Linked DNA regions of Homo sapiens: regions 2, 3, 4, 5, 6 and 7 are each linked to region 1. Evidence: promoter capture Hi-C in 16 types of primary human blood cells and fetal thymus (Javierre and others, 2016). All regions are on one chromosome and are shown on one strand. Each heading gives the region's core, a stretch centred on a gene start or on the middle of the fragment in contact. The rest is flanking DNA. Distances are from core to core; before and after follow the strand shown.

What was found. The method cuts DNA at HindIII sites, captures the fragments that hold promoters and counts their contacts. A CHiCAGO score of 5 or more calls a contact.
Region 2: a contact is called between a fragment that was not itself captured here and the fragment with the promoter of CASP3 in region 1, in 2 of 17 cell types (M2 macrophages and megakaryocytes). The highest score is 7.2, in M2 macrophages.
Region 3: a contact is called between a fragment that was not itself captured here and the fragment with the promoter of CASP3 in region 1, in 3 of 17 cell types (neutrophils, M2 macrophages and naive B cells). The highest score is 5.5, in neutrophils.
Region 4: a contact is called between a fragment that was not itself captured here and the fragment with the promoter of CASP3 in region 1, in 14 of 17 cell types (naive CD8 T cells, naive CD4 T cells, activated CD4 T cells and 11 more). The highest score is 12.3, in naive CD8 T cells.
Region 5: a contact is called between a fragment that was not itself captured here and the fragment with the promoter of CASP3 in region 1, in 2 of 17 cell types (neutrophils and activated CD4 T cells). The highest score is 7.0, in neutrophils.
Region 6: a contact is called between a fragment that was not itself captured here and the fragment with the promoter of CASP3 in region 1, in 13 of 17 cell types (naive B cells, naive CD8 T cells, activated CD4 T cells and 10 more). The highest score is 8.6, in naive B cells.
Region 7: a contact is called between a fragment that was not itself captured here and the fragment with the promoter of CASP3 in region 1, in 2 of 17 cell types (neutrophils and megakaryocytes). The highest score is 8.7, in neutrophils.

The regions. Positions count from the first base shown.
Region 1 is chr4:184,647,475-184,651,135 of GRCh38, reverse strand. It overlaps CASP3 (caspase 3), which reads left to right and starts at 1,689. Exons shown (of 8, transcript NM_004346.4): 1 at 1,689-1,741; 2 at 2,505-2,671. It overlaps PRIMPOL (primase and DNA directed polymerase), which reads right to left and starts at 1,398. Exons shown (of 14, transcript NM_152683.4): 1 at 1,228-1,398. RefSeq lists silencers at 1,382-1,961, 1,972-2,181. The HindIII fragment of the contact is 9,772 bases long and covers 1-3,618 here.
Region 2 is chr4:184,978,218-184,981,546 of GRCh38, reverse strand. No RefSeq gene overlaps it. Among named protein-coding and RNA genes, the nearest start is that of LINC02437, 9.5 kb to the left of the region's middle. The HindIII fragment of the contact is 2,311 bases long and covers 639-2,949 here.
Region 3 is chr4:184,298,331-184,301,588 of GRCh38, reverse strand. It overlaps MYL12BP2 (MYL12B pseudogene 2), which reads left to right. Exons shown (of 3, transcript XM_047416561.1): 3 at 1,820-2,707. The coding sequence ends at 2,460. Among named protein-coding and RNA genes, the nearest start is that of MYL12BP2, 14 kb to the left of the region's middle. The HindIII fragment of the contact is 3,052 bases long and covers 1-2,931 here.
Region 4 is chr4:184,275,986-184,279,588 of GRCh38, reverse strand. It overlaps LOC105377582 (a long non-coding RNA gene), which reads left to right. Exons shown (of 6, transcript XR_939552.3): 2 at 955-1,224; 3 at 2,261-2,412; 4 at 3,543-3,603. It also overlaps the pseudogene RN7SL28P. Among named protein-coding and RNA genes, the nearest start is that of MYL12BP2, 37 kb to the left of the region's middle. RefSeq lists an enhancer at 3,190-3,603. The HindIII fragment of the contact is 2,687 bases long and covers 756-3,442 here.
Region 5 is chr4:184,231,531-184,235,153 of GRCh38, reverse strand. No RefSeq gene overlaps it. Among named protein-coding and RNA genes, the nearest start is that of ENPP6, 15 kb to the right of the region's middle. The HindIII fragment of the contact is 7,747 bases long and covers 1-3,623 here.
Region 6 is chr4:184,253,271-184,256,669 of GRCh38, reverse strand. It overlaps the pseudogene RPL6P16. Among named protein-coding and RNA genes, the nearest start is that of ENPP6, 37 kb to the right of the region's middle. The HindIII fragment of the contact is 1,578 bases long and covers 1,260-2,837 here.
Region 7 is chr4:185,001,666-185,004,829 of GRCh38, reverse strand. It overlaps LINC02437 (long intergenic non-protein coding RNA 2437), which reads right to left. Exons shown (of 2, transcript XR_001741949.1): 2 at 1-330. Among named protein-coding and RNA genes, the nearest start is that of LINC02437, 14 kb to the right of the region's middle. The HindIII fragment of the contact is 4,746 bases long and covers 1-3,164 here.

The DNA.
Region 1 (3,661 bases), core at 440-2,939:
TTGTATTTTTAGTAAAGACAGGGTTTCACCATCTTGACCAGGCTGGTCTCGAACTCCTGACCTCGTGATCCACCTGCCTCGGCCTCCCAAAGTCCTGGGATTACAGGCATGAGCCACCGCGCCGGGACTTAACCTCTTTAAACTCGGCCTTAACCTCTTTAAACCTTATCCTCTTTAAATTGGAATTCCTATCCCGAGGGATTGTTGAAAGGCTGAAACAAACAAATGTATTATGAAAATGTAAAAGCATGCAATAAACTCAGCAAGGGGTAACCATATATAAAACTAAGTATATTTCTGTGCAGAATATAGTCCCTATAGTCGAATAGGCGCAAGTGTTAGAAACAGGCTCTGCCATGGGGTCCCTGAATCTGACTTCTGAATGTCAAGAACTTTTTGAAATCTGATGCAGAATGTCGTGCTCACATGTGTTGGTGAATTCTTCTGCGAAAATGATTCACAGTTTGCTTCAGGGTCTGAAATGAGTTCACGACCCAAAATAGGAAGGGGATCGGTAGGGCAGTGTATATAGCACACCATTGACGTAACCATTAATAACTCCATCTTAGGAGAAGACCCCATTTTTACATTTCATAAGGCATTTGCCAACAAGCATACTATACTTTAATAAACAAATAAAAAAATAGTCCGCATCCAGCCAGGTAAGGACACAAACAAGCACTCTCTTCCATTACCAGTTCTCACCACAGGACTCTGTGACTATAAAAGATGGGGCCTTCGGCAGCTCCCAACAGCCGGCTTAATTGACGCCGTCTTTGCAGAAGGACCTCTCGGCCCAAACCAGGCTTCTTTTCCTCTTCTTCACTCCCTCTGGATTGGTTCGTTAATCTCTTTGCCCCATCTCTTTTTCCTCATGATGTTAAATGCTACTTTGTTGTGGGATGCTTAACTTGTAACATTTATATGTGGATTAAGTACACTACTATGATGCGTGAGCGGCTTGAGCCTGTGTGTCAGGCTCTGACTACCCAGTGACCAGCAAGTGCTGAGAACTGCCTCCTTGGGAACTCCACGCAGCTCGTGGCTTTTGTGATCGAAAGAGCGTCCACAGCAGCCTGACATGGTGGAAAACACAGCATGCGTGGACCTGGTTATTTCTAGCCTGGCACCCTGATGACAGGAGGTTAAGGCTTTTGATTTAGGGAGAGAGACCTGAGGGTAACCCAAAGAAAGGCCTCAGGTCATCGCAGAGGAGACAGAAATTACCGGTGGGCGTCCCGGCCTGCTCCTCTTCTTCCCAGAGCTCAAACTGGGCAGCAGGCCTGGCTTTGTCTCCCTTCTAGGTACCCGTTGGGCCTGGCGCGGTTTCCAAGTCTCCCTCAATTTCCCTCCAGAATCCCGCGCTGGGAGCGGAAGCCCGCGGACTCTCAGGAAGACCTAGATTTCAAATCCGGGGCGGGGGAGCCGGGCCGAGCCTCAGGGCGGGACCAAAGCGGGAGGACTGGCGCGGGACGCGAGGGCGGGACCAGGGCGTGAGGACGCGGGGCGCGGGGGCGGGGCGCGCTGCGGTGGGCGGGCGCCTCCTGGGGCCCAGCCTGGGGCTGGGTTCTCGGGCGGGCGGGAGCTAGGGGACGGGCCGCAGCGGAGGCGGCGCGAGGGGCCGACAGGGGCGGGCGGGAGGCGGGGCTGGCGCTGGAGCACATCTCCCGGCGGCGGGCCGCGGAAGCAGTGCAGACGCGGCTCCTAGCGGATGGGTGCTATTGTGAGGCGGTTGTAGAAGGTATGAGGAGGCTGTGCGGTGACTGCCGCCCTCGCTCCGGGCCGTCAGCCCTGCCCCCGCTCCCTGCGTTCTCCCAGGCCCTGCGCCCGCCCGGGTACCTGCCCGGTCTGGAAGGCGGAGTGTTTGTTTTGCCACCTCGCCCGGGCGGGGGCGAGCAGTGAAGCCCGCGGAGCGAGAGACTTGGCCCGGAGGCGGGAGCCTGGGCCGGGGCCGGGGAAGCCAGGCAGCGGGTTAAGGCTTTTGATTTAGGGAGAGGGACCTGGGGGTAACCTAAGGAAAGGCCTCAGGTCATCGGAGGGGAGACCTGGCCCGGGGGCGGGAGGCTGGGCTGGGACCGGGGAGGCCGGGCAGCGCGAGGCCGGGCCGGGGAGGCCAGGCAGCGGGAGGCCTGGCCAGGGGAACCGAGCCCGGGGCCGGGAGGTCGGGCACGGGGCACCGAGCTCCGAGGGCGGGAGACCTGGCGGCCGGCCGAGTGCCGGAAGGCCGGGTCAGGCGGCGGAAGGCAGCGGCAAGCTGGGAAACGGACGGCGCTACCGCCGGCGGAGGAGTGGCCCCGGGAAGCGGTGCTGCGAGGGCTGGGGCGGCCGGGTGCTGACTGTGAGATACTCGCCCTGGGGGCTGATCCTTCCAATTTTGGACGAGGCTTCCGTCTCTGCTGCCTTCCATGCCTGGGGCCTGGATTATCCCGGGTTGACAATGTGGTTTAGCTCTTCCAGAGAGATAGTTGCAGGGTTTAAACTCCAATTCCTTTTCGGCCCTGCAGAGTTTCGTGAGTGCTCGCAGCTCATACCTGTGGCTGTGTATCCGTGGCCACAGCTGGTTGGCGTCGCCTTGAAATCCCAGGCCGTGAGGAGTTAGCGAGCCCTGCTCACACTCGGCGCTCTGGTTTTCGGTGGGTGTGCCCTGCACCTGCCTCTTCCCCCATTCTCAGTAAGTGGCACCCAAGCAGGAAACCGGAAAACATCGTTCGCAGCCCCCTCTCGCCCACCCACTTCTTTTCCTGCTTAGTCGCCAAGCCTTGTCGACCTTGTAAATGTCTGCCAGATCTGTCCGCGTCTCTCTATCTCTGATTTCAGCCGTCTGACCACAGCAGCCTCTTCCCTGGTCTCTCCACTTCCAGACCCGCCTGCTCCTTTGCAGTCCACTTTTTACAGCACAGGCAGAGGGATCTTTATGAAATGAAAGTCTAGAAAGCTCGTCCTTTGCCCTTAGGTTAAACCCAGCACTTAATATGGCTAACAAACCCCTGCGTGTGTTGGGTCCTGAGTGCCCCCACCCCTCCTTATCTTTAGCACCGGTTCGATTTCTGCACGGCAATGCTGACCTTCATACCTAGTGTCTGCCTGCAACACCTCTGCACTCCCTTTCTCCCGCCATCACATTTGATTAGAAGAGCTGCTACTTAAATTTCTGTTTTCATTAAACAGTTTAAGGTTAAATCTTCCTATGCTGTGTTCTTTCTGCAGCCAGCATTCCCTAAGAGAGATGTGTCATATCCTTTGCAGTTGCTTGTTTACTATCTTCCCTGCTAGATTTGCAAGCAAACTCCAGGAGGGACGGACTTGGTTTATCTTGGTATCCTTAGTGTCTTGCCCCAAATGCGGGGCCTGGCATAACACAGTGAATGCCCATCCATTGTATTTTTACTTTTATGCCCTATCTAGAAAAAGTAGACCTGGTTTAGGATTATTCAGCAAATAATAATTAGAAAAGAAATGGTAGAGGTGACATACGGAGTCACTGAAACGATGTAAACCTGCAAGATAGCTGAAAGAGGGCCAGGCAAGGTGGTTAGACCAGACTGTATCAAAATGGGCTCAGCCACTGTGAATGTGCGTGCTGTGGTTACATAATCTCTAAAAATGAAATATAAAGCTTAAATCATCTCTATCACAGCCCGATGCTTGGACTTTGGTTTTG
Region 2 (3,329 bases), core at 545-3,044, 330 kb before region 1:
TCAGGTTCTCATTTGTACTAACTACATTTCCAGTACTCAGTAGTGACTTGTGGCTAGTGTATGTGACAGCACAGATGCAGAACAGTTCCCGCCATGGCAGGAAGTTCAATTGTACCACGCTGGGCAGTGCTGAGCTCTGGCCTTTGGGGTGGAGTGATGGGAGTCAATGAGGCAGCTTATTCCTGACACTTCAGAGGTCAGGAAGCAGAGAGGTCCTATAGTCGCCTATGTTTTGTGGTGGGATGTAAGAGGCAGCAACAGGACTGCCCTCCCTCACTTCTGCAAAACACTCGTGGTTGCTCCCTTCCATGTGCCAGGATTCCTGAAAGCCCCGTGGACACTCCTTTAAAGCACTGCCTCCAAAGAAGGCCTTGTAAAAATACACGTGTGATTTTAAAATGTTCATGCACTTGGATCCGATGATTCTACTTCTGGAAATATATCCAAAGGATATACTCATAGATATTCAAATAGAGATCCATAAAAGGAATATTCTACATTACATTATTATTTTTCTCGGGTCAGATTTAGGTGGGGTATACTTTACATACAATAAAATTGATCCTTATAAGGTAGACAGCTGGATAAGTTTTGCCAAACGTATACAGTCATGTAACCACCCCCATAATAAAAAAGCTTCCCATCATTCCAAAAAGTTCACCCATGCTACCCTTTGTGGTCAATCCCCTGCCGCAATCCCTAGCCCCTGGCAGCGCTGATCTGCTTTGCAGCTTGTAGTTTTGCCTTTTGTGAACGTCACACAAATGGAATTACAGGTGTGGCCATCTGCACCTGGCTTCTGTCATTTAGCAAATGTTTTTCGATGCATCCATGGTATTGCATTCATGGGTTGTTTGCTCCTTTTATTGGTGAGTAGTATTCCATTGTGTTGTCCTATAGTTTGTTGACCCATTTTCCTATCGGTGGGCATTTGGGTTGTTTCTGGTGTCTGGCAATCAGGAATAAAGCAGCTAAAACATTCATGTGCAGGTCTGTGTGGACCACAGGGCGCAGACATGCAAATGAATGTTGGTCTTCACATGAATGATTCCAGAAGTTGAATCATTTATTTACAGAGCGAGCTTCCAAGAAAAACCAGAATGTCTAACATCTAACATCTGATACCCTAAAGAATGGAGCAACCAAATGTAACCACTGACATTGCATTTTGAAAGGCTACTTGTGGCGTGGAAATATTTCACTTGTTTAGTGTTAAAAAGCAGAACACAGAACAATACGCTTTCAGGAGGAAACAATGGTCATCTCTGGCTCGTGGAGGACTTTTACTTTGTTCTTTCTTGACCATTTCTCTGTTGGGGTCTCTGAGCTGTCAGGAACCAGAAAACCATCCAGGTCTCTTACATGATGAGGTTGACCGTAAGAGGCTGCGGGACAACAAGGAAGGCAGGAAGGAATCTTGTCTGCAGAGGAGGCTGGAAGGGGCCATGTGGATGATGGCAACAGCAGCCCCTCAGAGATCTGCAGGAGCAGCAGGCTGCAGGCCCGGGGGGGCTTCCAGACACCCTGCCTGCTCTGTGCTCTCTCTTCCGTCTGTCCATCAGTCCACAAACTCTGAAGGAGTGACTTCCATCTGCCAGGCACGGCTTATCTCCCGGCATGTGGACGTGAACAAGGCACACTTGGCCGCTTCCCTCATGAAGCTGGGAGTCTAGTGTTGTCTCTCTCTCTCTCTCTCTCTTTCTCTCTCCTTCTGCTCCCACCAGCTAAACCCTCCCCTTCCCTTTTTTCTCTTCTGTGGCTTCTGCTTCGTTCCTTCCCTCTGCGGGTCGTAGGCAAATGCTCTCCTGCACCCCTCAGTCCTGCGAGACGGTCCTGCGTGTCTCGTCGCTCAGCTCCCGACAAGAGGGCCTGAGTGCAGTGCAGTCAGGGCAGAGCCTTACAGGAGCCCACGCTGCAGCCACGCCAGCCGGGGTTGCTGCCTTTGAGACAGGCACTCTGCCCTGGGGCTGACAGGATGCTGGCACCCAAGCTACTTCTGGATCCTTCTATCTAACTGTGTATTAATCAACAAGAGTGTATACATTTTCTGAATTATTTTGGGGACCAATCTGTTGAGTTCCAGGGCCTGCTCCATTCACAGCCATGCGGACGGGCTTCTCACCCACAGTTTGCCATGAAACAAGAAATAGACATAGAAGAAATCTGACCCAAGAAAAGTAATAATGTCACACAGAAAGTCCCTTTTACAGGTCTCTATTTGAATATCTATGAGTATATCCTTTGGATACATTTCCAGAAGTAGAATCATGGGATCCAAGTGCATGAACATTTTAAAATCACACGTGTATTTTTAGAAGGCCTTCTTTGGAGGCAGTGCTTTAAAAGAGTGTCCATGAGGCTTTTGGGAATCCTGGCACGCAGAAGGTAGCAGCCACGAGTGTTTTGCAGAAGTGAGTGAGGGCAGTACTGTTGCTGCCTCTTGCATCCCACCACAAAGCATGAGTGACTGTGGGACCGCCCTGGTCAATCCAGCGGGCAAGGGCAGGGGCAGAGTCAACAGACACACAGCTCAGTAGACTGTGGGTAAGAAACCCCCTTGGGACAGCTGTGAATGGGGCAGGCCCCAGAACACAACAGACGGGTCCCCAATATAATACAGAAAATGTATAAACTCTCATTGATCAATGGGTACAAATATGCAGTCAGATAGAAGAAATGAGACCTAGTGTTCGATAGATCAGTAGAGTGACCATATTTGACAATAATCTACTGCACAACTCAAAATAGCTAGAAGAGAATGATTGAAATGTTCCCAGCATAAAGGAAAGATAAATATTTAAGGTGAGGGATAACCCAATTCCCCGACTTGACCTTTACACAATATAGCAATGTGTCAAAATATCACATATGCCCTGAAGATTTGTACAGCTCTTATGTAACACTAAAAAAGATTAAAATAATATTACAACATTTTTTAAACTGGAAGCTTTTTATAATGAGCACCTGCTACTTTTCAAATTGGAGATGGGGGCAGTAGAAAATAATATTGCACAAGAAAAAAACCTATTTCCTGAGAAGGATAAGAACATTCTAGTGAGTCCTGGCTAAAGATATAAGCAGACGTGACTCCATCCATGTTGGCTGTCTCCCAGGAGCAGAGGGCGAGGCTAAGAGAAGGGTTCAGGGAACTCGGTCTGTGGAAGGTTAGAGACAGAAAGAGGACGGAACACTGGGACCTCGGGGAGGGCGGAGCTGGGGGAGGGCTGAGAGCATGAACTCACTTCTTATGTTCTTTCTTGTTGTTTTTTGCACTATAAATATATTTTGTTATCCATGAATAAAGCACTTGACATTTACTAAATATTTAT
Region 3 (3,258 bases), core at 156-2,655, 350 kb after region 1:
TCTCTTTATGAGTTATATTTTCTTGTTTCTTTGGCTATCCGGTGATTTTTTGTTGGGTGCCAGACATTATGAATTTTTCTTTTTAGGTCCTGGATAGATTAATATTCTTATAGATATTCTTGCGTTTTGTTCTGGGATGCAATTAAGTTGCTTAGAAACAGTTTTATTGTATTTAAAGTGATAGAAAAGACTGATGCACTCTTTAGCTTATACAGTATAGGCATACAGGCTATCAGAATCAAAAGAGCTTGAGGTAAGTTAAGCCTGGGGTCTACTTTAAAGGGAAAAGCTAATTTAATACTCTTCCAGAGTCAATCAGTGCTGATTAATTTTTCTTTAATTATTCAACTTTTAGATGTGTGGATCCTAAAAACAAAAAATCAGCTCTGCGTGTCTTTTTTTTTTTTTTTTGAGATGGTCTTACTCCTCTCACCCAGGCCAGAGCGCAGTGGCACAATCACAGCTCACTGCACTCTCAGCCTCCCAGGCTCAATGGATCCTCCCACCTCAGCCTCCCAAGTAGCTGAGACTACAACTGCGCCCCACCACGCCCGGCTAATTTTTAAATTTTTTTGTAGAGATGAGGTCTTGTCGTGTTGCCCAGGCTGGTCTTGAACTCTTGGGTTCAAGCAATCTTGGCCTCCCAAAGGGCTGGGATTACAGGTGTGAACCCCTTGCACCTAGCCTGAATGTCTGTGTTTTCTACTTACATTAGAAGAGGTGTGTGAGATTTGCAAATTTATTGCCAGCATAACAGTGATGCCAGTTTGTGAAGACCATTCTGTAGTAATTGAGACACTGCCTGGTTTTCCTAGCATTTTTCTTATTTTCTTTCCTTCTCTATGTGACTCTACCAGTCTGACCCCTGATTTATCCTCTGAAACCCTCAATGAGGTCAGGAACGTAGTCTGAGGAATAGCAGAACCTAAAAGATTTCTTGACATGCAAAATCTGTAATAGAGTTGAGATTTGAATAAGACTGTAATTAGTGTATTGTGGGATGTCTTCACATGTCTGTAAAACACATGAATTTACATAAAAGATTTATCCCACAATTTGGGGAACCCACTAATTGAGTTTACTGAAAAAATTATGCATTAGACCCTTGAACAACATAAATTTGAAGTGCACAGGTATATGCAATTTTTTTTTTTTTTTTTTTTTTTTGAGACAGAGTCTCACTGTCGCCAGGCTGGAGTGTAGTGGTGTGGTCTCAGCTCACTGTGGACTCCGCCTCCTGGGTTTGGGTGGTTCTCCTACCTCGGCCTCCCAAGTGGCTGGGATTGCAGGCACATGCCACCATGCCGGGCTAATTTTTGTGTTTTTGGTAGAGACGGGGTTTCACCATGTTGGCCAGGATGGTCTCGATTTCTTGACCTCGTGATCCACCCACCTCGGCCTCCCAGGGTGCTGGGATTGCAGGAGTGAGCCACTGTGCCCGGCCATAATTTTTTTTTCAATAAATATATTGGAAATTTGTTTGGAGCTTTGTGACAACTTGGAGAATTCACAGGCTGGGCATGGTGGCTCATGCCTGTGGTCCCAGCACTTTGGGAGGCCGAGGTGGGCAGATCACCTGAGGTTGGGAGTTCGGGACGAGGCTGACCAACATGGAGAAACCCCGTCTCTAGCAGAATTACAAAATTGGCCTGGAATGGGGGCACATGCCTGTGGTCCCAGCTGCTCGGGAGGCCGAAGCAGGAGAATTGCTTGGGCCCGGGAGGCAGAGGTTGCGGTGAGCACGACCACAAAATACACAAATCTATTAAAAGTTAAATTTTATGAAAACATACAGACTGTACATGTAAGCAAATTTAAAATGCAGTATTAAATCATAGCTCTATAGCCGCCACTGTCTGGCCACAGCCCCGCGCTCCTCGCTGTCGCTTGTCATCTCGCACAGGGTGGTTCCGTTTCTGGTATTTGGTGCCGGAATTAAGCAACCACCATGTTGAGCAAAAAGGCAAGACCACCAAGAAGCGCCCTCAGTGTGCAACGTCCAAGGTGTTTGCCACGTTTGACCAGTCACAGATTCAGGAGTTCAAAGAGGCCTTCAACATGATTGATCAGAACAGAGATGGTTTCATCAGCAAGGAAGATTTGCATGGTATGCTTGCTTCTCTAGGGAAGAATCCCACTGATGCATGCCTTGATGCCGTGATGAATGAGGCACCAGGGCCCATTAACTTCACCATGTTGCTCGCCATGTTTGGTAAGAAGTTAAATGGCACAGATCCTGAAGACGTCATCAGAAATGCTTTTGCTTGCTTTGATGAAGAAGCAACAGGCACCATTCAGGAAGATTACCTGAGAGAGCTGCTGACAACCGTGGGGGATCAGTTTACGGATGAGGAAGTGGATGAGCTGTACACAGAAGCACCTATTGACAAAAAGGGGAATTTCAATTACATCGAATTCACAAGCATCCTGAAACATGGAGTAAAAGACAAAGATGACTGAAAAGAACTTTAGCTAAAACCTTCCAGTTACATTGTCTTACTCTGTTTTGTTTCTCACACACTTCCACCACCCTCATAGAACCTGTTGCATGCAACTTAGTTTCACAGCTTTGCCTCTTTTTTTTTATGTATTTATTCCAGAACTTTCTGCCACTTAGCACTTGTATAATCAGACGGGAAATGAGGATGAGGGCATAAATTGTATTGAAAAAGAGATCGCCAATAAAAATCAACAAATGTGAAAGCCCCCCCAAAAAAACATAACTCTATAAACTAGTATGTACTGTACTGCTGTAATTGTGTAACTGCCTCCTGCTTTAGTGAGTCAGGTGTTGCCAGTATCTGCTTAAAACTCTGTGATGCTCGTCATCAGAGCAGTTCCTGTCTTCAGTAAACTGTGTATCACAATAAAAAGTGATCTCTTGAAAAAAAAAAAAAAAGAAATAGTTCGTTTTGAGGCCTGATTTAAGCTTTTTTAGGGAGAACAGAACAGCTTTTAATCCAGGGCTAATCCTTCCCCCATATGAAAGCTAAACCTTCTAATTAGTCTATGAATTATACGGTTTTCCAACATTGGCTGGTGGGAATACAAACTGTCCTGGCCCCTGGCTCCCTTTGTTCCTTTTAGGCAGTTCCTTTTCAGCCCTGGATAGTTTCCTCACAGGCCTGCTGCGATCAGTACTCGACTGAAGTCTCCAGGGTGACCCTCTGCAGATCTCTGGTGCTCTTTGTGTAGCTCTCTCCTGTCTAGTACTCTGTCCTGCCAACTCTGTCTTGGTCTCCTCCAATCCCCAAACTG
Region 4 (3,603 bases), core at 850-3,349, 370 kb after region 1:
TTGCGGGCAGTTAGAAAAAAATGAATAATATAAATCTTGCCATTCAAAGTGAGGTCTAAGAACCCGTGGCATTGGCCATCATCCGAGAGTCTTTGAGGAACACAGAATCTTAGGCCTACTCCAGAATTACTGAATCAAAATCTGCATTTTATCAGAATCTGTAGGAGATTCCAGTGTACATTAACATTTGAAAAGCAGTGATCTAAAATACTGTAAAAGAAACTAGAGGAACTCTGTGTTGAAAAGTCAAGAACTTATGTTGCCAGCTCTCAAGTAAAACAATCTCCAAGAAAGGTATCGTTACATGTGAATTTAGATTCATTTTTTAAAAAGGTTTATTTTATTTTATTTTTCTAGAGACAAGGTCTCACTATGTTGCCCAGGCTGGAGTGTGGTGGCTATTTACAGGTTGGATCTCACTACTTATCAGCACAGAATTCTTATCTGTTCTATTTTAACCTGGGCAGGTTCAACCCTCCTTAGGCTACCTGGTGGTTCCCCACTCCCAGAAGGTCACCATATTGATGCTGAACTTAGTGCAGACACCCAGTGGACATAGCACACTACAGCCCAGAACTCTTGGGCTCAAGCCAACCTTCCTCCCTTAGCCTCCTGAGTAGTTGGGAATACAGGCATGTGCCACCACACCTGGCATACATTCATATACTGTACGATAGAGACAAGTATACAAAGATCCTCTTCTCTTCCTCTTGCCTTTTAATGGTAATGGGAAGAGCTGTAGATATAAAAAAGCTTAGTGTAGGCAAAGAGACGCTAGAAGGTTTCCTTAGGTGGAAAAGAAAAAAATCATAAAATTGGAAAGGAAGAAAGGAAAAAGATGAAAAATGTTGGCAGAGCAGCTTCTGGGATGAATGAAATTTAATAAACCTTTGCTGAGATGGGTTATGACTTTGCTCTCTGCTTTTGGAGTTGATTTTATTTTATTTTTTTTAGATATAATGGCACATGGAAGTGTGTCATAAAGTGGGAGAAAAAGTGCAAGAATTCCTCAAGACCCATATGTAAGGTTTTCTATAATTCACTTTGTATGCTACAATTGTTTGCCCTGCATAGTGCCAGGAAGATATAAAAATGTGAAATGAACAAATATTGTTTAAGAGTTTAAAGATACTTTGGATGTCATGACTCCAATAATATTACCTTACAGATCAACACCTGTGTTAGTCCATTCTCATGCTGCTATGAAGAAATACCTGAGACTGGGTAATTTATAAATAAAAGAGGTTTAATTGACTCACAGTTTCACATGGGTGGGGAGGCCTCAGGAAACTTATAACCATGGTGGAAGGCACTCTTCACAGGCAGCAAGAGAGAGAATGAGTTTGGAGTGAAGGGGGAAGCCTCTTATAAAACCATCAGATCTTGTGAGAACTCACTCATGGTGAGAACAGCATGGGGGAAAATGCCCTCATGATTCAATTATCTCCACCTGGTGCTGCCCTTGACACATGGGTATTATTACAATTCAAGGTGATATTTGGGTGGGGACACAGAGCCAAACCACATCATTCTGCCCCTGGCCCCTCCCAAATCTCATGCCCTCACATTTCACAACACAATCATGCTCTCCCAACAGTCCCTCAAAGTCTTAACTCATTCCAGTATTAACTCAAAAGTCCAAGTCCAAAGTCTCACCTGAGAAAAGGCAACTCTCTTCTGCCTATGAGCCTGTAAAATCAGAGGCAGGTTAGTTACTTCTAAGATACAATGGGAGTACAGGCATTGGGTAAATGGTCCCCTTCCAAATTGGCCCAAACAAAGGGGCTACAGGCTCCATGCAAGTCCAAAATCCTGCAAGGCAGTTATTCAATCTTAATGCTCTGAAATGATCTCCTTTGACTCCATGTCTCACATCTAGGGCACACTGATGCAAGAGGTGGGCTCCCATGGTCTTGGCAGCTTTGACCCTGTGGCTTTGCAGGGTACAGCCCCCTCCTGCCTGCTTTCACAGGCTGGCATTGAGAGTCTGCAGCTTTTCCAGGAGCACAGTGCAAGCTGTCGGTGGATCTACCATTCTGGGGCCTGAAGTATGGTGGCCCAGTAGGCAGCGTCCCACTGGGGACTGTGTGTGGGGGCTCCAACCCCACATTTTCCTTTCACACTGCCCCAGCAGAGGTTCTCCATGAGGGCTCCACCCCTGAAGCAGACTTCTCCCTGGACATCCAGGCATTTCCATACATCCTCGGAAATCTAGTTGGAGGTTCCCAAACCTCAATTCTTGACTTCTATGCACCTGCAGGTCCAACACCATATGGAAGCTGCCAAGGCTTGAAGCAATGGCCTAAGCTGGATCTCGACCCCTTTTAGCCACAGCTGAAACTGGAATGGCTGGGATGCAGGACACCAAGTCCCAAGGCTGCACAGAGCAACAGGTCCCTGGGCCAGGCCCAGGTAACCATTTTCCCCTCCTAGGCCTCCAGGCTTGTGATGGGAGGGGCTGCTGTGAAGTTCTCTGACATGTCCTGGAGACATTTTCCCCATCGTCTTGGTGATTAACATTCAGCTCCTCATTACTTGTGCAAATTTCTGCAGCCTGCTTGAATTTCTTCCCAGGAAATGGGTTTTTCTTTTCTATCACGTCATCAGGCTGAAAATTTTCCAAACTTTTATGCTCTGTTTTTCTTGAACACTTTGTCACTTAGAAATTTCTTTTGCCAGATATCCTAAATCATCTCTCTCAAGTTCAAAGTTCCACAGATCTCTAGGGCAGAGACAAAATGCCACCAGTCTCTTTGCTAAAGCATAGCACGACCTTTATTCCAGTTCCCAACAAGTTCCTCATCTCCATCTGAGACCACCTCAGCCTATACTTCACTGTCCATATCACTATCAGCATTTTGGTCAAAGCCATTCTACAAGTCTCTAGGAAGTTCCAAACTTTCCCGCATCTTCCTGTCTTCTTCTGAGCCCTCTAAGCTATTTCAACCTCTGCCTCTTACCGAGTTCTAAAGTTGCTTCCACATTTTTCCGTACCAGTATAGCAGCACCCCACTCTTGGTACCAATTTACTGTATAAGTCTGTTCTCACACTGCTGTGAAGAAATACCTGATACTGGGTAATTGATAATGAAAAGAGGTTTAATTGACTCACAGTTCCATATGGCTGGGGAGGCCACAGGAAACTTACAATCATGGCAGAAGGCACCTCTTCACAGGGCAGCAGGAGAGAGAATGAGTATACAGCGAAGAGGGAAGCCCTTTGTAAAAGCATCAGATCTCATGAGAACTCACGGTCATGAGATCGGCATGGGGGAAACTGCCCCCATGATTCAATTATCTTCACCTTGTCTCACCCTTGACACGTGGGGATTATTACGATTCAAGGTGAGATTTGGATGGGGACACAGAGACACACAAACTATATCAACACCCTTTAGTCTTGACACTCACAGGTACTTGCCCAAATCCACAGGGAAAAGCTTGGCTCAGTTGCTGGGGTGTGCCATCCACACATTCATCACAAAGTAAAATAATGCCTAACAAAACTGAACACCTGACTCTTTTCCTGAAAACTTTTAAAGCATTAGGCCTATCAAGTGTCATGCACAGCTCAAGAGGAAATGCTATCTGGAAATCCCCCAA
Region 5 (3,623 bases), core at 176-2,675, 420 kb after region 1:
TCGAAGTCATATGAGGAGCTTAGATAGATAGATAGATAGATAGATAGATAGATAGATAGATAAATGGACAGACAGATAGATAGATAGACAGATAGATATATAGATAGATGCCCAGTCTTAGTCTAGACCTTATTGAATTTTGATGGGGTGGGTCTCAGCCTTTAACTCTCCAGGAGAGAGGTGAGAGCAGGGGTCTGTGCAGCAGGAATGAGCCTGGGATCCCTGTAAAGGCTGACAGCTGGTCCCACCCAGTGATGACTCACAGCAATAAAGAGAAGACCCTGGTTCCCACCATGAAGTAGCCAATATGATGCCCAAATGTGAGATGAGGAGTCTGAAGAACTGTTTCTAGCTATTCCACTTAGTGCCTGTGCATTCCTATTTAGTCAGTTGGAAGATAGCTGCCTTTTATATAAGGAATGTGTTCTTAGAAGCCTTGTTCAATTTAAAACACGCACAAATAAAGACTATTATCCTAATAGGAATAAATATAAACTGTGTATTCATAAACCTAGTGTTAAATCAAGTTTAGCCTAAAGCTGCCTCCTTACATATTTTAAATTCAGCCTAAAAGTTTCTCTGTATACAGGGAGCCATAACCTAAATGGAGGTGTAAACAGATTGTAACCTATCTTTAAAAGAAAAACCTTAGCCAAATTAAATTTAAAAGAGTTTAATTGAGCAAAGAACAATCCATGAATCGGGCAGCCTCCTGAGCCACAGTAGGCTCAGAGAGATTCCAACACAGCCACGTGGCAGAAGAAGATTTATGGGCAGAAAAAGGAAAGTGACTCAGAGAAAACAGAAGTGAGGTGCAGAAACTGCCGATTGATTACCGGTCAGTGTTTGCCTTATTTGAACATGGTTTGAACAATTGACCATATTTGATTGGCCAAAACTTGGTGATTGGCACAAGAGTTGGTTACAGTCTGTTTACAACTCTATTTAGGTTATAATTCATGATGTACAGAGAAACCTTTAGGCCAAACTTAAAGCAGGTAATGAGGCAGCTTTAGGCTAAACCTGATTTAACACTTCTCTTGTGCCAATCACTGAATTTTGGCCAAAAGGGATCAACTGTTCAAAACGGGTTCAAGTAAATCAAAAGCTGATCTGTAACCAATTTGGCTGTTTGTGTACCTCACTTCTGTTTTCTGTACATCACTTTTCTTTTTCTGCCCATAAGTCTTCTTCCACCACCTAGATGCACTGGAGTATCTCGAGCCTACTCTGGCTCAGGAGGCTGCCCAACTGGCAAATCATTCTCTGTTCAATTAAACACTATTAAACTTAATTTGGCTAGGGTTTTTCTTTTAACACTAGAATGACTGTTGTGAACACTTTCTTTACTACTTCGTTTCACCTTGAACTCTGATACTTTGCAGAATGCTGTCCTCTTAATTAACAGTCTGGGACAACATGGTACTTATGTATGCCCATCTTCTTAGCACTTTAACACACAGAATTTCTATTTCAAAGTTGATTTTCCGAGTACACTTTCTTTTCAGCAGGAGCATGAGCCCCACCAATAAACACACAGATGGCATTATTAATATAAAAAGAATTTTAAATTATAATGTCACAGTGTATTAAAATATTAGTACAAAAGTGTTCCATTGTCTATGAGGTAAACTACTTAAACTACTTCAGAATAGAAAGTGTAACTTATGTTATATTAGTCAGGGTTCTCTTGCGGGACAGAACTAATAGGATAAATGTATATATAAAGGGGATTTTATTAAGGAGTACTGACTCACACGATCACAAGGTGAAGACCCACAATAGTCCATCTGCAAGATGAGGAACAAGGAAGCCAGTCCAAGTCCCAAAACCTCAAAAGTAGGAAAGCCGACAGTTCTGTCTTCAGCCTGTGGCCGAAGGCCCAAGAGCCCCTGGCAAACCACTGAGTCCAAAAGTCCAAGAGTCCAAAAGCTGAAGAACTTGGACTCTGATGTTCTAGGGCAGGAAGCATCCAGCACAGGAGAATGATGAAGGCTGGAAGACTCAGCAAGTCAAGTCCTTCTATGTTCTTCTGCCTGCTTTATTCTAGCCATGCTGGCAGCCGATTAGATGGTGCTCACCCAGACTGAGAGTGAGTTTGCCTCTCCCAGTCCACTGACATAAACGTTAATCTCCTTTGGCAACACCCTCACAGACACACCCAGGAACAATACTTTGCATCCTTCAGTCCAATCAAGCCGACACTCAGTATGAACCATCACATATGGGTACATGAATTACCTTTCATCTATACTCCAGGGGTAATTACTCAGCATTTGAACAGAAATTTATAATCAGAGGTGGTTAAAGAAAATGTTTTCTATTTTATTATTATAGATACTAAGTCTTCATTAGCTAGCATAAGGCATTTTAGAAATAATTTTCCACAGATAAAATAAGTGGTGTTCAAAAAATACAGTCACCTGAAAAGACTGAATGGATCCCAGCACCTTGCTTGGTTGAAGTATCAGAATCAGGCCAGATTCTGTGGGGGTGGGGCCCACATCCAAAACTCATGCCCTCTGGGCACCCCATGTTGCAGAGGACTCTGTCATAAGTTCTATCTCAAGGTTGGCTGATCTCAGAGTTCATGCAGGGAACTTGATTGTGGCCTGAAGACAGAAAGAGGAGATCTCACCAAGCTAAGGAGAACAGGTATGCAACTGTTTGTGTAATAAAGCACTGGACTGGCCTTTGTCCCTAGTTCCTGGGAGAGAGACTCTGAGTACTCGGAATTTCCTGAATAATAGGGGCATCTTTGGTCACCAGAAAGACCAACCATGTGATCTCAGGAGGTTAGGACTTTGAGCCAGTCTGATCTCCAGGGAGGGGAAAGGGGCTGGTGACTGAGTTTAATCCTTGGTCAATGGTCTGACTAATCATGCCTATGTCAGGAAACTATAATACAACTCTGGACACAAGCTCAGAGGAACTTTCTGTTTGATAAACACATTGATGTGTCAGGAGGGTGATGCGCTCTGATTTCATGGAAAGAGAGCGTGGGATCTCTGCGTTTGGGACCCTCTCAGATCTTGTCCTATGTATCTCTTCATTATGCTGGTCCTGATTTGCAGCCTTTATAATAAAACTGTAATTATAAGTCTAGCACCTTCCTGAGTTCCAGGAATTGTTATGGAGAATTGTCAAGCCTGAGAGTGGTTGTAGGATTTGTAGCTAGTTAGTTGGTCAGGCACAGGTGGTCTGGAGACCTGGAATTACAGCTGGCATCTGAAATGGGGACAGTCTTGCTGGGGACAGTGCTCCTAACATGAGGAATCTGACATTAACTCCAGATGGTTATTGTCAGAATTGTACTGCAGGACACCCAAACTATCTTTAGCCTGCTTACTAATAAATAGTTGTCCGCTTGGCAGAATATAGCCTTAACTTCATTTTGACAGACCAACTAGTAGTCTGAGGCTGGGCTTGTATAGGCCATACCTAGCTCTAACCTGGTAGGCTACCGGTGTCCACCACAACAACCTGACAGTTGGTAAAGGGACAAATTTGCTTAGACCAGCCTCACAACCACACACAGAAATCCCTCCTGGAAGTTCCAACACCTGAAATAGCAGCATGATTTCTAGGACACTGAAAGCGGGGGCTGGTATTTCTGTTTTCCT
Region 6 (3,399 bases), core at 799-3,298, 390 kb after region 1:
GATTCTAGAAGGGTCCTGTGCTCTAGGAGGGTCAGAAAGAACTTCTACTACCATCTTGCTTTAGGAGTCCAAGTAAATAACTGACTGAATACACTTTGCTCTGAAGTAGACATATGGTGTCTGATTCGGGGGAACCTGTGCCTCTGCAGCCCCCAAGTCTGTGGCAGGCATTGCCCATCGATCATGACACGGTCCTTGCAGCTTGGGTGCGCCACCAGAGTGCTTCTCATCACAGGGCTGCCGGCCGGCCCTTCTCTGGTGCTCTTGGTCCTTCTTGGAGAAGGACTCAACGGAGCTTGTCTTCTTGGCTGAGTGGGCCTCCGTGTCGAGAGACCACAGCCTATGAAATGGCTGTTTTGGATGTGGTTTTGTGAGTTCTTGCATACGGATATTCTACAATCCACAAAGCCACTCTAGTGTCTCCAAGTCAAAGGTTAATACCCAGGGAAGGTGAAAATCTCCTTTAAAATTGCTAGTGAAAAGTGGGATAAGCCAGAGGAATATAGAATTAGGTTTATGTAGCAGCCTGGGTTTCCATAGCAACGAGATGCAGTTGCGTCAAACACACGACTAAACTTTTCCACACTGGTTTTTAGCCTGGAAGGAGGCTGGAAGAGGGTATTTACTGACCGTGCAGGCGCAGTGAAAATTTGACAGCAAAGCCCTCCGAAAAGTCTCAGTCAAAGCAAATGGCAATGACTCCCCACAAAAATACCACGTGTCAGCCCCCGCTACAGCCTCGCGGGCCGAACCAGAGTGGCACATATGCAAAAGTGTCTCGCTTGTGGGACAAAAGGTATTGTAACTCATCCTGGAAACACACTACCCTTAAGAAACCCCTCAGAAGCACAGGGGCAGTCATTTGGGGTCTCTGGGGTTTCATGAAATACAGCATCACATTTTGCAGCTCAAAGCCTCCTATTTATTGGGGACTCAGTGAAGAAAGCCAGAAGTGTGATGTTGCCTGGGTAGGAGAGCCCGGCCTGCAGCCTTCTGCTAGCAGCAGCAGGAAACTGCAGCCCTGAATCAGGGCCTTTGTTCTCCTGAAGCCTGCAGGGAGTAGGCCCTTCTGCTCACACTGCCCTTGGGCAGCAAGCGTGTGTCCCTGGGAGCCCATGGTGGCGGCCCCCTAGGTGCAGCAGGAGTTGGGCCTGGAGGCCTGGCTGGGGGCAGCTGGGGACAGCACTCATTGTTTCTGCCCCTGCTCCTCTCGCAGCAGTGAGGACTGGGCTCCCATCCAGCAAAAAGGGCTGGAAGCTTTCTGCAAGAAGCACCCAGGCTTGGTTGGTTGGTTGGTTTGAAATGTATCCATTATTTAATTAGGTTCTTTGCAAGAAATTGAGAACCGCAGTTGGTCAGGACACATTGCGTTTGTGAGTGAGAACACAGAATGAAGGTAGCCCTAGAGCTGAGGGACAGCTTTGGTTCGGGGCAGCATTTGTGAGTCCACAGCTTTCTGATCTGTCTCGCACTGCTGTGTAAGCCGCATTTCCTTCTCTGTGTGGAAGTGCTCACCTTCCTGGTGTCTGTGCGTGTGCAGCAGCCAGATGTGGGGGATTTTCACACTGCTCATCGCAACTTTGATGGAGGTGCTGATGACACATTTCCAGTATGTTCCACACAGAGGAACTCAGTTGAGAAGCAGAGGTCTAATTACTGCTCAGCTCAGGAAAACCACCCTCTGGACTCCGTGGCGCCCAGTGAGGATGATGGGAGCAGTCCCGGGGGAGTGAGGCTGCCTGCAGCCTTCCCACGTTCTGACTGAAGGGTTTTGTTTTGTTTGCCAGGGCTCCATGATTCCAAGGCGCATCTTGAGTAGGCACATAGGTAGGCATTTCCGGAAGTTTTACCATCCAGGCACCTCCATTCTTATCATCCTCTGCTGGTTTTGTGACAGTAGCAAGAACCATTTTTTTTTTTTTTCCAAATCTGGATTTAGCGGCTGAATGCTTCCTCTTGTACATGGCTTTTCTGGACTACAAGCAGGTCAGGAATATCTGCCCATACCCCTGATGGGACAGGGTTTCTGCTACAGAGGGGCTTCCCCATCCTGGGCTCTTTGGGTTTGAGATTACCCTTCTTAATCTTGCCACTGGCATGAGCCTTCTTGGCTACAGGTTTCTTTCCTTAGCTTCCCGCTGCTCAATTTTTCACTCATCATCTTGCGACACGGGAAAGCGTTGGGTCTTGTTTTGATGCAACTCACTACGGAATAGATGCAGAGGCAGAGGCAAAAGTATCAGTGTTTTATCAATTGCTTGAAAGGCTACAAATAGATTCACAGAATGTGTAGTGCTGGAGGAGACAAACATACAACACAAGAAAGATATTCAGCCTGCAAATATACTTAATGCCTGGCCAGTGTCAGGGAGAATGGCAGGACCAGCTCCTCTCAATATGGGAAGGAGTACTGAGGAACAAGACCCTGGTGTGTCCGGAATTGGTGGGTTCTTGGTCTCACTGACTTCAAGAATGAAGCCACAGATCCTCGTGGTGAGTGTGAGAGTTTACTTAAAGATGGTGTGTTGGGAGTTTGTTCCTTCTGCTGTTCGGACATGTTCAAAGTTTCTTCCTTCTGGTGGGTTCGTGGTCTCGCTGCTTCAGGACTGAAGCTATATACCTTCACGGTGAGTGTTACAACTCTTAAGACGGTGCGCCTGTAGTCATTCATTCCTCCCATCCGCAGTCGTTCATTCCTCCCAGTGGGTCTGTGGTCTTGCTGGCCTCAAGGGTGAAGCGGCAGGTCTAGGAAGTGACGGTTACAGCTCATAATGGCAGTGCAGGCCCAATGAGTAAACAGCAGCAAAATTTATTGCAAAGAGCAAAAGAACAAAGCTTCCACAGACCGGAAAAAGACCTGAGCAGGTTACCACTGCTGGTTGGGGCAGCCTGCTTTTATTCCCTTATCTGGCCCCACCCACATCCTGCTGATTGGTCCATTTTACAGAGAGCTGATTGGTCTGTTTTACAGAGAACTGATTGGTCCCTTTTGACAGGGTGCTGATTGGTGTGTTTACAATCCCTGAGCCAGACACAGAGTGCTGATTGGTGCATTTACAATCCTCTAGCTAGACATAAAAGTTCTCCAAGTCCTCACCAGATTATCTAGACACAGAACACTGATTGGTGCATTTACAAACCTTTAGCTAGACACAGGGTGCTGATTGGTGTGTTTACAAACCTTAAGCTAGAAACAGAGTGCTGATTGGTGTGTTCACAAACCTTTAGCTAGACATAAAAGTTCTCCAAGTCCCCACCCCACTCAGGAGCCCAGCTGGCTTCGCCTAGTGGGTCCCGTGCCAGGGCCGTGGGCGGAGCTGCCCACCAGACCCGCACACGGCGCCTGCACTCCTCAGCCCATGGGTGGTCAATGGGACCCGGTGCCCCTGAGCAGGGGGC
Region 7 (3,164 bases), core at 412-2,911, 350 kb before region 1:
CCTGCAGGAGTAGAGCCGGGCTCCGTGGAGCAGGATCTCTCGGAAGTGCAGGCTGCAGGAGTTCTGCTCTCCTCTAAGGGCCTTTGTTCCTGGTCAGCCTTCCCCTGGTGAGAGTTGGCACAGTTAGTGGAAAGGGCACAGGCTGCCTCGAGCCCTGGGGGCTGGTGCTGACTTTCCACTGGTGCAGTCTGACCTTGAAAAGTCCCTTTCCTTGTGATTTCCTTTCATGCCAACAGAGAGGCTCTTCTGGGATGAGTGTGGTCACGGCGGGGCCTTTCTGCTTCACTCCATCCCTCCCGTGTCCTGCAGCTGACGGGACCCCCGGCACACCTGGAAGAAACCACAGGGAGGGAGACACACACAGGAGGAAAGAAAGGGGGAAAATGGGAAGAAAAGGGAGAGGCATGAAAGAGAGCAGACAAAGGAGGGAGGAAAAGGAAGAGAATGGAGAAGATAAACACATCATAAGCAGGTCTCAAGACTTCACACATCATCACCAAAGGCTGTTTTTACTTGGGGTGATGCTTAATTTTTTGTGTGAACCTGGCTGCACCATGGTACGCAGATGTTTGGTAGAACACCAGCACAGGTGTTGCTGCGAAGGTATTTTAAGATGAGATTAACATTTACATCAGTAGACTTTAAGTAGGTTATCCTCTGAATGTGGTGGGCCTTGTCCAATCAGTTGAGGGCTTGAAGAGAAAAAGACTGAGGTTCCCTGAGGAGGGGTATTCTGCCTCCACACTCACTTCCTTAGGACTCAAGCTGCAACAGCAGCCGTGCCCTAGGTCTCCGGCCTGCCCACCTACCCTGCAGATTTGGGGCTTGCCAAGCCTCCACAATCGTGTAAGTCCATCCCTGAAGACAAACCTCTGTCTGGCGTTGCATTCGCTACTGGATAGAGGGGTAAGCAGACCCACCTGTGAGGAGCATGCCGTCCAGTGGGAGTGAATCTGCCACCTCGGGGTCTTGCACTGGGTGAGAGGTTTGGTGATAGACCCGGCGGAGACACGGGGGAGCGATGACTGGGGAGCAGGTGTGGTCAGAAGTGACCTCGAGAGGGACGGTGCTGAAGGGAGTCTTGGCTGAGGAGGGGCACCTGCTCTAAGCACCACTTGCTTTTGCTGTAGGTACGTCAAGTGGAGGGAGCTGTGCAAAGAAGGGCCTGGCAGCGTGGAATAGCTGACGGGTGAGGCTTGTGAGGCCTGAGGAGTCTCCCCAACCCGTCTCCACTTGTGTCTGCACTGACTTCTCAGTTTTCTGTCACTTCTTCGGAGAAGCCTTTCTGGCCACTCTATTTGATCGAAGCCCCCTAAGATATGGTCCCATAGCATCAGGTACCTCTGTTGTCATACATAGTCACAGTTAACATTTATTTGAGGGATTACGTGATAAGTAATCTGTATCTGATGCCAGAATGGATTGGAAGAGCTTGCTACTGGTGACAGGTGAAAGAATTAGGAGGCTCTTGCCAAAACCCATGAGGGAAATGATGGAGGTGGAAATAATGGGGGCTGCTTTGATGCTGAAAAGGGAATGGACTAGACAGGTGTCGAGGACATGGGTCTGTCCCCATCGGAGGCACAGACCATTTCTTTCCTGCCTATTATGTCCCCCTCAGAACCTAGTGTGGTGGCTGGCAGAGAGCGAGGACCGAACAATGTTGGTTGAAAGGATGAAGGAAGGACTGATAGATGCCCTTCCTTGCACACACGGTGCTTTCTAAATCATGGTTTAGGGGCTACACAAGTGAATGGCTCCATTGCATCCCAGCATTGTGTCTCAGTGCGAGCCACGGCTGTTGGATCATTGCTGTCAGGGCTGAGGCATTGCGACACTTCCGTGTCCTGTGCTACATTCTAAAGGCTGCTCTGTGAAGGTCGGAGCCAGCCGGACGGTATGCACACAGAGAGGTGTCCTGTGGATGACAGGTTTGGGAGATTCCTTATTTCCCTTTCTGTTAAACAGAAAGCCTGGTTCCATTTTGGGACTGCAGGCTGAGAGTATGTCCTTCCTCAGACTTGCTCTGGGAGTGAATCCCGACACATATCTGGTTTGCAGTATGTGCCAGGAATGGGCTTAGGCACTTCACACACGTTATCTTACGTAATATTCATAATTCTTTGAAGAGGTACAATCTTAATTTTTTAGTGCAGGAAACTAAGACCATAAGGCTAATGACCTCCCCAGGGTCACTTGGCTGGTAAATCCTAGAGTGGGGAGGGGCATCCCGCAGGCTTGAAACCCCTCTCTTTATGCCAGTGGGTCTCAACCCAGGCTGCCCACTCCAGTCCCCTGGGGAGCTTTCCTCTAGGCCCGGGCCCGTGACATTAGACGCTCTGGGGTGGGGCCCAGAATGAGAGGCTGTCAGAGCTTCAGGTGTTTCCAGTGTGCAGCCAGGGTTGAAAAGCAGCACCCCACAGCCTCAGCCTCCACCTGTGTCTCCTAAATCCAGATTCCTGCCAGGCCATTCCACCTGGATGTCCCAAATTTGGGACATCCTAAACAGCACTCCCTCTCCAACAGCCTCGATTTAGAATTCCTTCACCAAAACACTCCAGACAGAAATGCTTGAGTTGTTCTTGACTTCCGCTCTGCTCTGACCACAATCCATAGACATTAAGTTCTGTTGATTCCTTCCTGACACCCCTTCACTCCGACCCCCGCAGACACCACACTGACACCCCACAATTTCTCATGGGTTTCTGCAAGAGTCGCCTTATTTTTTTGCCCATCACCAGAAAGCTACTACGTACTGGTGTTAGGGTGATCTGTCTAAAATGCTTAATAGCCTTCAGTTGCTTCCATTGACTTTAAGAAAAGTATCCCGACTCCTCTCGTGTCGTGCCTTGCCCTGAGATAGCAGTCCTCTCCTGCTGTGTTATTTCAGGCGGCCTGCAGTGTTAAAGTACTCGTAGTTTTCCCTCCAAGCACTCAACGCCCTGTGCCTATCTGCCTCCGCACAGGCAGTTTCTCATGCTTATAATGCCCTTCTTTCCTGGGCAAATCCAATTCATCCTTCAACACCCTATTCAGAGGCGCCCTCTTCCAGGAGTCCCCTTAGACCACCTCTGCCCAACAGGCTGGCTTAGGTATTTTTTTTTGAGATGGTGTTTCACTCTTGTTGCCCAGACTGGAGTGTGATGGTGCAATCTCGGCTCACC